Regions from separate parts of the Homo sapiens genome. Here all the other regions are linked to region 1. The links are contacts of gene promoters, found by promoter capture Hi-C in blood cells and fetal thymus (Javierre and others, 2016). All regions are on one chromosome and are shown on one strand. Each heading gives the region's core, a stretch centred on a gene start or on the middle of the fragment in contact. The rest is flanking DNA. Distances are from core to core; before and after follow the strand shown. Region 1 overlaps MAG (myelin associated glycoprotein). Region 2 holds the start of GAPDHS (glyceraldehyde-3-phosphate dehydrogenase, spermatogenic). Region 3 holds the start of HPN-AS1 (HPN antisense RNA 1).

Region 1 (2,592 bases), core at 26-2,525:
TGACTGATTGGCACGGAGCCTCCTCGTGCCAGGGCAATCCCTTTCATGCTAGAGGGCCCTGGGGAGGGGCTCATGCCTCAAAGGTCCTAGCAAACTCGGGGCAAACTCAGGGCGGCTTCTCCTCTCCAACCGGAAAGGGAGAATTTGACCTTTCTGTCAATCTGCATAGCCCATGCTCTGTGGCTGTTGGTCAGCCTTGGGAGCTTGGATCTAAGACGTGCCCGCTCCCTCCTGTGGCTCCCACCCCAAGTCCACGCCACTCACGGGCTCCCTGGAAGGGCAGCTCCAGGCTCTTGGCGCCATAGAGGTTCCTCGCGGTGCAGATGACGCGGGGCGGGGCCTGGGCCTGCCCCCGCAGCGTGAGGATGCTGGTGAGCACGAGGCCGCTGCGCTCCGAGTACACGAACTCCCGCTCGCTCTCGTTCACGGTCACATTGCGCGATGGCAGCTCAAAGGCCACGGACGGCTCCGGGTTGGACTTCACCACGCACAGGCACTGCACCGTGTCTCGGGCTGCCGCGCAGTGGGACTCCAGGAGGAGCACAGGGGCGACTGCAGGGGCAAAATCAGGTCTGAGGGTGGCCCGGAGCCAACGCGAGGCCCGGCCCCGGAGACTCCTTGGCTCAAGGCAAGGCCAGTGTGGCCAAGGATGGGGGCGGTAGCTTCCTGTAGGGCCCTCCAATTTCCCCTCCTTTTTTCTCTGTCCTGACTGAGAGCGCCTTGACCTCACTACGACCCCGCCGGCTGCCTGTTTTCACTGCAAGCTTCACTAACCCACGCCTGGGGCCTTGAACATTCCCAGGCACTGATAAAGGTGTTTAGGTTGTTGCTCAAAACACTGAAAGAGGCCGGGCATGGTGGCTCACTGCTGTAATCCTAGCACTTTGCGAGGCCGAAGAGTGAGTGGATCACTTGAGGTCAGGAGTACGAGAGGTTACAGAATGAGACGCTGTCTCAAAAAAACCCCAAACAACAACAACAACAAAAATGAAAGAATGAAAGAAACCAGCCCCAGCCCTGGGCCAAATTCCTTAAACCCTCATGTAAACCCATACCCTGACCCTCACGGACGTGTCTGGGTAGACCCTCCCTTTCTCTCGCCGTAGCACTGTGCAAGTTCCCCTCCCAAATGCTTTGGACTGATGATCACCTGGTGGTTTAGTGCCTCTCTCTTTGGAATCCCAAGTGGCCTCATTTCGGGGTGGTTTGGGGTGCTCTCTTGGGGCAATTCTTCTGGTGCCACTTTTGAGGCGACTCTAGCCTCAGCTTCAGCCTGGACAGAGCACTATGTCACAGGGACGGGCCGTTTCTCCTGGGCCCTGGCTCTTACACTCTCTCTAACCTCATTCACCTTGTAATACATAAATCAGATCATGGCACTCTCTGCTCAAAACCCTCCTTCTGTTGCTCCGTGGTTCACCTAAAATACAAATCCTTTATTTTTTATCGTTTAGAGACAGGGTCTGGCCCTGTCGCCCAGGCTGAAGTGCAGTGGCAGTACTATAGCTCATTTGCACTCTTGGCCTCTAGTGATCCTCCCGCCTCAGCCTCCCAAAGTGCTGGGATTACAGGCATAAGCCACTGCGCCCAGCCACATTTGACCATTTTTGACATGCAGAAAAAATTTCACATAGTTCAATGTAATGTATACAGCAAAAAGTACGAATATTCACCCTAAATGAAATCAGTATAGATTACAAACAGCCTTGTGTTCTTTAGGCGAGATTTTGCTGTCAAATCAGGGTGGTGCCAAATTTGCAAAAAGCCTTTTGATTTTAAAGCTTTATGTTCAGAATTGCAGAGGACGGTAAATCTGTCATACTCATGATAGTTACTGGAGGGTTTTTGTTTGTTTTTGTAGAGACAGGGTCTTGCTATGTTCCCCATGCTGGTCTTGAACTCCTGAGCTCAAGCAATCCTCCTGCCTTGGCCTCCCAAAGTGCTGGGATTATAAGGCGCAAGCCACTGTGCCCAGCCCAAAATACAAAGTCTTTCATCTACAAGGCCCCTCAGGCCCTGCCTGACCACACACTCTCTCCTTCTCTCCCCCTGGCTTAGTCCTTTCCAGCCACACCGGTTCCTTGCTGTGTCTGAAAATCGTGGAGCTTTCTCCCACTCCAGGGTCTGTACGTTTCTCCCTCAACTTGGAACACTTCCATCAGTTGCCTGTGGAACGCCCTCCCTCGCTCCAAACTGGCCTCTACCCATGCGGCGTCTCCTTCTCTGACCACCCAGGGAAGCTGCACCTCGCTCCACGTATCATTCACTCCCTGCCTCACTCAGTTCTCCTCCCCAGCACTCACCCTCCCTGCATCACACACTTACATAAGGGGCCTCCTGTTTCCATCAAGACAGGGGCTTGCTCCTTCTCCACTCTGGGCCCCACACGTAGAAGGGAGGAACCATGGAACTCTCCCAGCCCCCGGCCTCCCCAGACCCTTGGGGCTCACACAGGCTTAGACTATCCCCTCCTTTCTGGCTTCCAGGCTGTGCTCCTTCCTTTCAGTCTGCGCTGCAGATGCCCCCCACTTCCTCCCCTAAAGCCGCCTTGAACCCCGGCCCTTCCTCACCCATGAGATTCCCTCCTGCCAC
Region 2 (2,592 bases), core at 65-2,564, 220 kb before region 1:
AGTGGCTGTCCAAGTTCATGAAGGTGTTAGTGTTTATTGGTGAACTTGAGGATGTTTGCATCCTTGGGGGTTGTTTCTGCTATGGGAGAAAGGGGATTTGTCCACCTGGTTCAGGTGGGAATCTGAGCCCAATGGGTGACCCTTCCGAAGAAAACTCAGATGGTCCTCCTCTCCCAGCACTCCCAGCCTTGCACTCTCTTCCCCTCCACTGTAGGGGTGGGGTCCCCCGGTTGGAGAAAAGCCTGGGGGCTAGCTGGGTGCTGCCCCCAGCTCCTCACTGCGTCCTCCCACTGAATCCCGAGAGGCATGCGCTATAAACCCACTTTACAGAGGGGAAAATGAAGCCTGAGGCCACGGAGCAGTGATGCGCAGGGCAGGGGTTCAAGTCTCATGAGGCTGGTAAGCCTGTCTGCTCCTGTGTCTTCCAGGGTCTCCTGGACCAAAGCCCCAGCCCCACCTACCCCTGCGGCCCCCGCCCTTGGGAAGTGAGGGAACAGTGTGGGAATGGAGGCAGCCCACCGGAAGACCTGGTTCCTCCGGCTAGAGTGAGTGAGTGAGTGTGTGTGTGTGTGTGTGCGCGCGCGCGGGCGCGCCGCCCTTGTTGAGAGACTAAGGAAGTAGTTTGCCCTCTCTTAACCTCTGTTGGCCGCTCTGTAAACTGCGGGCACACTCTGGCCTTCTCAGGTGGTGGTGAGGCTTCCCTGAGCTCTCGCCTGCGAAGTGGTCAGCACGTCCCCGGCAAGGTTCCAAGTGTCCTTGTTTTGTGCATCACAGGGAGGGCAAAGCTCACCTCACGCGAAGCGCCATGAACATCACTTTTACATGGAAGCCCAGCACCCCTGGGTTCTCCCTAAGCCCCTCCTAAGCCCGCCCACTTCCCGCCACTTTCAGGCTGCAGCCTCCGATGGCCCTCGTTTCTGCTCTTTCTACCGCGTGATAGCGGCGCGAAGCCCACCCAGCCCTGGGGGCGGAGGCCCGGTCTCCCCGCCATGGCAGTAAACCCCACTCTGCCAGCACACTGGCGGGTGTGGAGGGAGGGAGAGCGGCTGATCCCCTGGTCCCTAGATGGTGCACACGCCAGGAAGGGCGGTAGGGATACGGCACAGGTGTGAGGGTGCAGACGCTCCCCACTACCCTTTCCACCCCTCCCCCGCGCCCTCCGCTGCCTCCCTCACCCGGGCACGGCTGTCGCAGCAACTGGACAACGGTGACATTGGTGAGGACGATGTCGCGCTTCGACATGGCCTCTTATAAGGTTATCATTGGCCTGGACCTGCTGTGATGTTACCGAGGTGCGTGCGGAGCGCCAGGGCTGTGGGTCCTGGGCTAATTGCCCTGATGTCACAGCACCCAGTGACGTCACAGTACCCAGTGACGTCGCCGAGGGGCGGCGCCCAAGCCAGAGGCCTGACACCATCGCATCCCATCCCCGTAGAGGCATGGGACGTCAGCACGCTATGCATCACCGTTCCACGGCCACGCACTGCCGTCTGGAATGGAATCCCACTTTTTAAAATTATCATTTGTTTATTTATTTTGAGACGGGGTGTCACTCTTTCTCCTAGGCTGGAGTGCAGTGGTGCAATCATGGCTCACTGCAGCCTTGAACTCCTGGGCTCAAGCGATCCTCCCGCCTCGGCCTCCTGAGTAGCTGGGACTACATGTGCAGCCACCACTGCAGGCTATTTTTACTTTTTATTTTTTTGTAGAGAGAGGGTCTCACTCTTTTGCTCAGGCTGGTCTAGAACCCTTGGGCTCAAGCGATCCTCCCACCTCGGCCTTCCAAAATGCTGGGATTACAGGAGCGAGCCACCACACCCAGCCTGGAATCCCACCTTTTACACTGTTCCTGAAAGCCCTTTCCTCTTCTCTGTCTCTTGAAGCACACAGGTTCCATGCTGTCCCTTGGATTCTCCAGTGGAGTGACTCTTGCTGCCTCCGTATGCCTGGAAGGCCCACCCAGGGCTTCCCTTGGCTGCCTCTTGGTTTCCCACCCTTTAAGAGAGGCTTTCTACACTCTGCATCTAAGTTCCCTCCTTTCTCTGTCACTGTCAGCCGTCACCCCCTTCCCAATTTCTGCCCATCTTCCAGGAAGCCTTGTCTGACTTCTCCATTCTGAGTTATGCTTCAGTGTGCAAAATTTCTCTAGGGCTACACTGTCTATGTTTTTATTTTCCTTAGAGCACATGTCTCTCTAAAAATTGTTTGTTTTCTTGCCAACTGTCTCTGTCCACCAGACTGTAAGCTCTGAGAGGACAGGGACGTCATCTATGTCACTTCTGTATCCCATTGACAAGAAAAGTGTTTGGCACCTGAAAGGTGTTTGTGGGCTGGACGCAGTGGCTCATGCCTGTAATCCCAACACTTTGGGAGGCTGAGGTGGGAGGATCATTTGAGTCCAGGAGTTTGAGACCAACATGGGCAATGTGGCAAAACCCTGTATCTACAAAAAATAAAAAAAGTAGCCAGGTGTGGTGGTGCATGCCTGTTGTCCCAATTATTAGGGAGGCTGAGGTGGGAGGATCACTTGAGCCTAGGAGGTCAAGGCTGCAGTGAGCTGTGATTGTGTCACTGCACTCCAGCTGGGAGACA
Region 3 (2,592 bases), core at 41-2,540, 200 kb after region 1:
CTCGGGCCTAGAAAACACATCCACCCCTGTGGGTTCTAGACAAAAGTTTCAGGTCTCAGAGTGGAGGTTTACCAGGGCATTTACACTCTTTGAAGATTGTTAAGAAGAAATACTGGTTTCGGGGGACATAGGGACACAGGGGTGGATTCCCATTTTGCCCTCTCTCCCTGCAAGAAGTAGCTGCCAGAGATGGGGGGTAGGGGCAGGATCTCTCCCACCTACAACTCCTGAGTAGGATTAGATAGGCTTAAGAAAACCTCTGGGCTGCACTGATTGGCTCAGTGGGGTTTAATCAAAGTGAAGCATTGGAATTTTTGTTGAGTACTTGGGGTAAGAAAAGATTCGGGTTTTGGACAATGGGGAATACACATTTAATGACTGGAAAATTGGCAGTTATTTTGCCATCACAAGAAAAGCCAGCCTGAGGACAAAGCTAATGCTATAGAGAAACACAGACCAAGAGAAATGCTGAAAAACTGAGTTAGCACCCTGATCAAACCATGCCTGATCTCCCTCTGGAATTTTCAGTTATGTAATTAGTCTAAAAATCATAAAACACAGTCTGTGACTGGTTTGAGTTACCTTTTATGAGGCTTTCTGTAACCAAAACAGCCAAAGTGGTATATAGGGAACTTCTGTGGACCCAGAATCTCTACACTTTCACTAGGCTATCACATGATTTTTACTTAGTTTGAGCCAATGTATTTCTTTTAGCTTCAATCGGTTCAAGAGTCTCTAGATGCCAATGAGTGCTTACCTCATCAGGTCGGGGCTCTCTCTGCAGACAAACCTGGGTCCCATGAACCTACATCTTTGAAATGAACACAATGGGACTGCTGGACTTGTTTCTCCTTCCCAATTTCCACCTTGAAAAGGCGCAATGAGCTGGAGGAGCCACAGGACTTGGTAAAAGCAGAAGCGCAAGTGCCTGGAAACTCAACACTCTTCCGGTCAAAGGAGGCGACGTGTGAGTGCATGGTTGCTTGATAAATGCCAGGGGAGAGTGGGTGGCACCCAAAGATGCCCCTGAGGGTCTCACATCTCTGCCCCGGCCCACAGGAGGACGGGGAGCAGCACACGGCGTGGGTGGAGGCCTGGCAGTGGCAGAATTGCTCACAGCGCTCCCCAGTCCAGAAGGCCTCCCCAGCCGGGTGGTGGTACCTGCCCCCCATGGAGCAGCTGCACTGGATTGGGGGCACGCAGTCCATGCCACTGAGCACAAAGCCTGGGTCACACTGGCAGCCATCCTGGCATGGTGTCAGGCAGCTGTCGGGCAGGGCAGGCTCGGCACAAGAGCTAGGACAGGAGGAGCCGCAGAGCTCGTAATTGCTGCGGGGAGGACAGGCCAGCTCTGGAAGAAAACAGGTAGGAGTTAAATAATTGAGCAAGCATTACTATTCTGGAGCATTTCCAACCAGAATAGGACCAAGGGAGCGGAGAGAGGGTTGTGGGGGCCAAGGGTAAGTCATAAAGGCAAAGGAGGGGAGGTGGAGGCATCATCAGGATGTAGCATAATGGTGGCGGCGTGGTCACGGCGGTGATAACGGTGGCGGCGTGGTCACGGCGGTGATAACGGTGGCGGCGTGGTCACGGCGGTGATAACGGTGGCGGCGTGGTCACGGCGGTGATTAACGGTGGCGGCGTGGTCACGGTGGTGATAATGCTGGTGGCGTGATCATGGTGGTGATAATGGTGGTGGTGGTGGTCGTGGTGATAGTAATGATGATGATGGTGGTAGGGCTGGTGATGTTGTTGGTGATGTGATGGTGTTGATGGTGATGGTAATGATAGCGGTGATGGTGACAGTGATGATAGTGGTGAGGGTGGTGGTGGTGGTGATGACAATAGTTGTGGTTGTGGTAACAATGATGGTGGTGGTAGTGATAATGGTGATGGTGATTATAGTAGTGATGGTGATGCTGATGCTGGTGGTGATGGTGATGCTGGTGGTGATGGTTATGATGGTGATGATGATGTTGATGGTGGTGGTGGTGGTGATGATGATGGTGATGGTGGTGATGGTGATGATGGTGGTGATGGTAGTGGTGATGATGGCTGTGGCTGTGGTAACAATGATGATGGTGATGGTGGTGATGGTTGTGGTTGTGGTAACAATGATGGTGGTGGTAGTGATGATGGTAATGCTTGTGGTGATGGTGGTGGTGGTGATGATGGTAATGCTGGTGGTGGTGGTGGTGGTGAGGCTGGTGGTGGTGGTGATGGTGACGCTGGTGGTGGTGGTGATGGTGACGGTAATGATGATAGTGACTGTGATGATGACAAAGGTGACGAAGATAGTGATGAAGAAACAACCTTGGTCATGCTGGGTCATGTTCAGGTTAGTTCGTTACTTCAGCATAACCCAGACCATCCTGACTGATGCAATAGCACTCAGTGTCATCTGTTATTGTTATTGCAGAGTTTTAAGCAGGTAGGTTCTTCGCGGGAACAGTTAGCCAGAAAGGCATGCAGTGGGTCACTTTGGGTGGTGTTGACCTAGGAGGACATCCTGGAAGTGGTATTGGGCCAGCTGGGGAGGTCAGGCTGAGAAAGACCCTCCCTGGGAATACCCACTTACTGCAGGCCAAGAGG

Evidence for each region. Contacts are between HindIII fragments. The CHiCAGO score rates a contact against its expected background, and 5 or more counts as called.
Region 2: a contact is called between the fragment with the promoter of GAPDHS here and a fragment that was not itself captured in region 1, in 1 of 17 cell types (erythroblasts). The highest score is 8.8, in erythroblasts.
Region 3: a contact is called between the fragment with the promoter of HPN-AS1 here and a fragment that was not itself captured in region 1, in 3 of 17 cell types (total CD8 T cells, naive CD8 T cells and naive CD4 T cells). The highest score is 6.1, in total CD8 T cells.

Annotation. Positions count from the first base shown.
Region 1 is chr19:35,307,834-35,310,425 of GRCh38, reverse strand. MAG (myelin associated glycoprotein) reads right to left here. Exons shown (of 11, transcript NM_002361.4): 8 at 265-552. Among named protein-coding and RNA genes, the nearest start is that of MAG, 17 kb to the right of the region's middle. The HindIII fragment of the contact is 1,017 bases long and covers 767-1,783 here.
Region 2 is chr19:35,532,178-35,534,769 of GRCh38, reverse strand. It overlaps GAPDHS (glyceraldehyde-3-phosphate dehydrogenase, spermatogenic), which reads right to left and starts at 1,314. Exons shown (of 11, transcript NM_014364.5): 1 at 1,176-1,314. The coding sequence starts at 1,242. RefSeq lists an enhancer at 328-457. The HindIII fragment of the contact is 5,250 bases long and covers 1-2,592 here.
Region 3 is chr19:35,105,002-35,107,593 of GRCh38, reverse strand. HPN-AS1 (HPN antisense RNA 1) reads left to right here and starts at 1,290. Exons shown (of 4, transcript NR_024562.1): 1 at 1,290-1,365. LOC124904701 (hepatitis A virus cellular receptor 1-like) reads right to left here. Exons shown (of 3, transcript XR_007067238.1): 2 at 758-2,592. The HindIII fragment of the contact is 15,680 bases long and covers 1-2,592 here.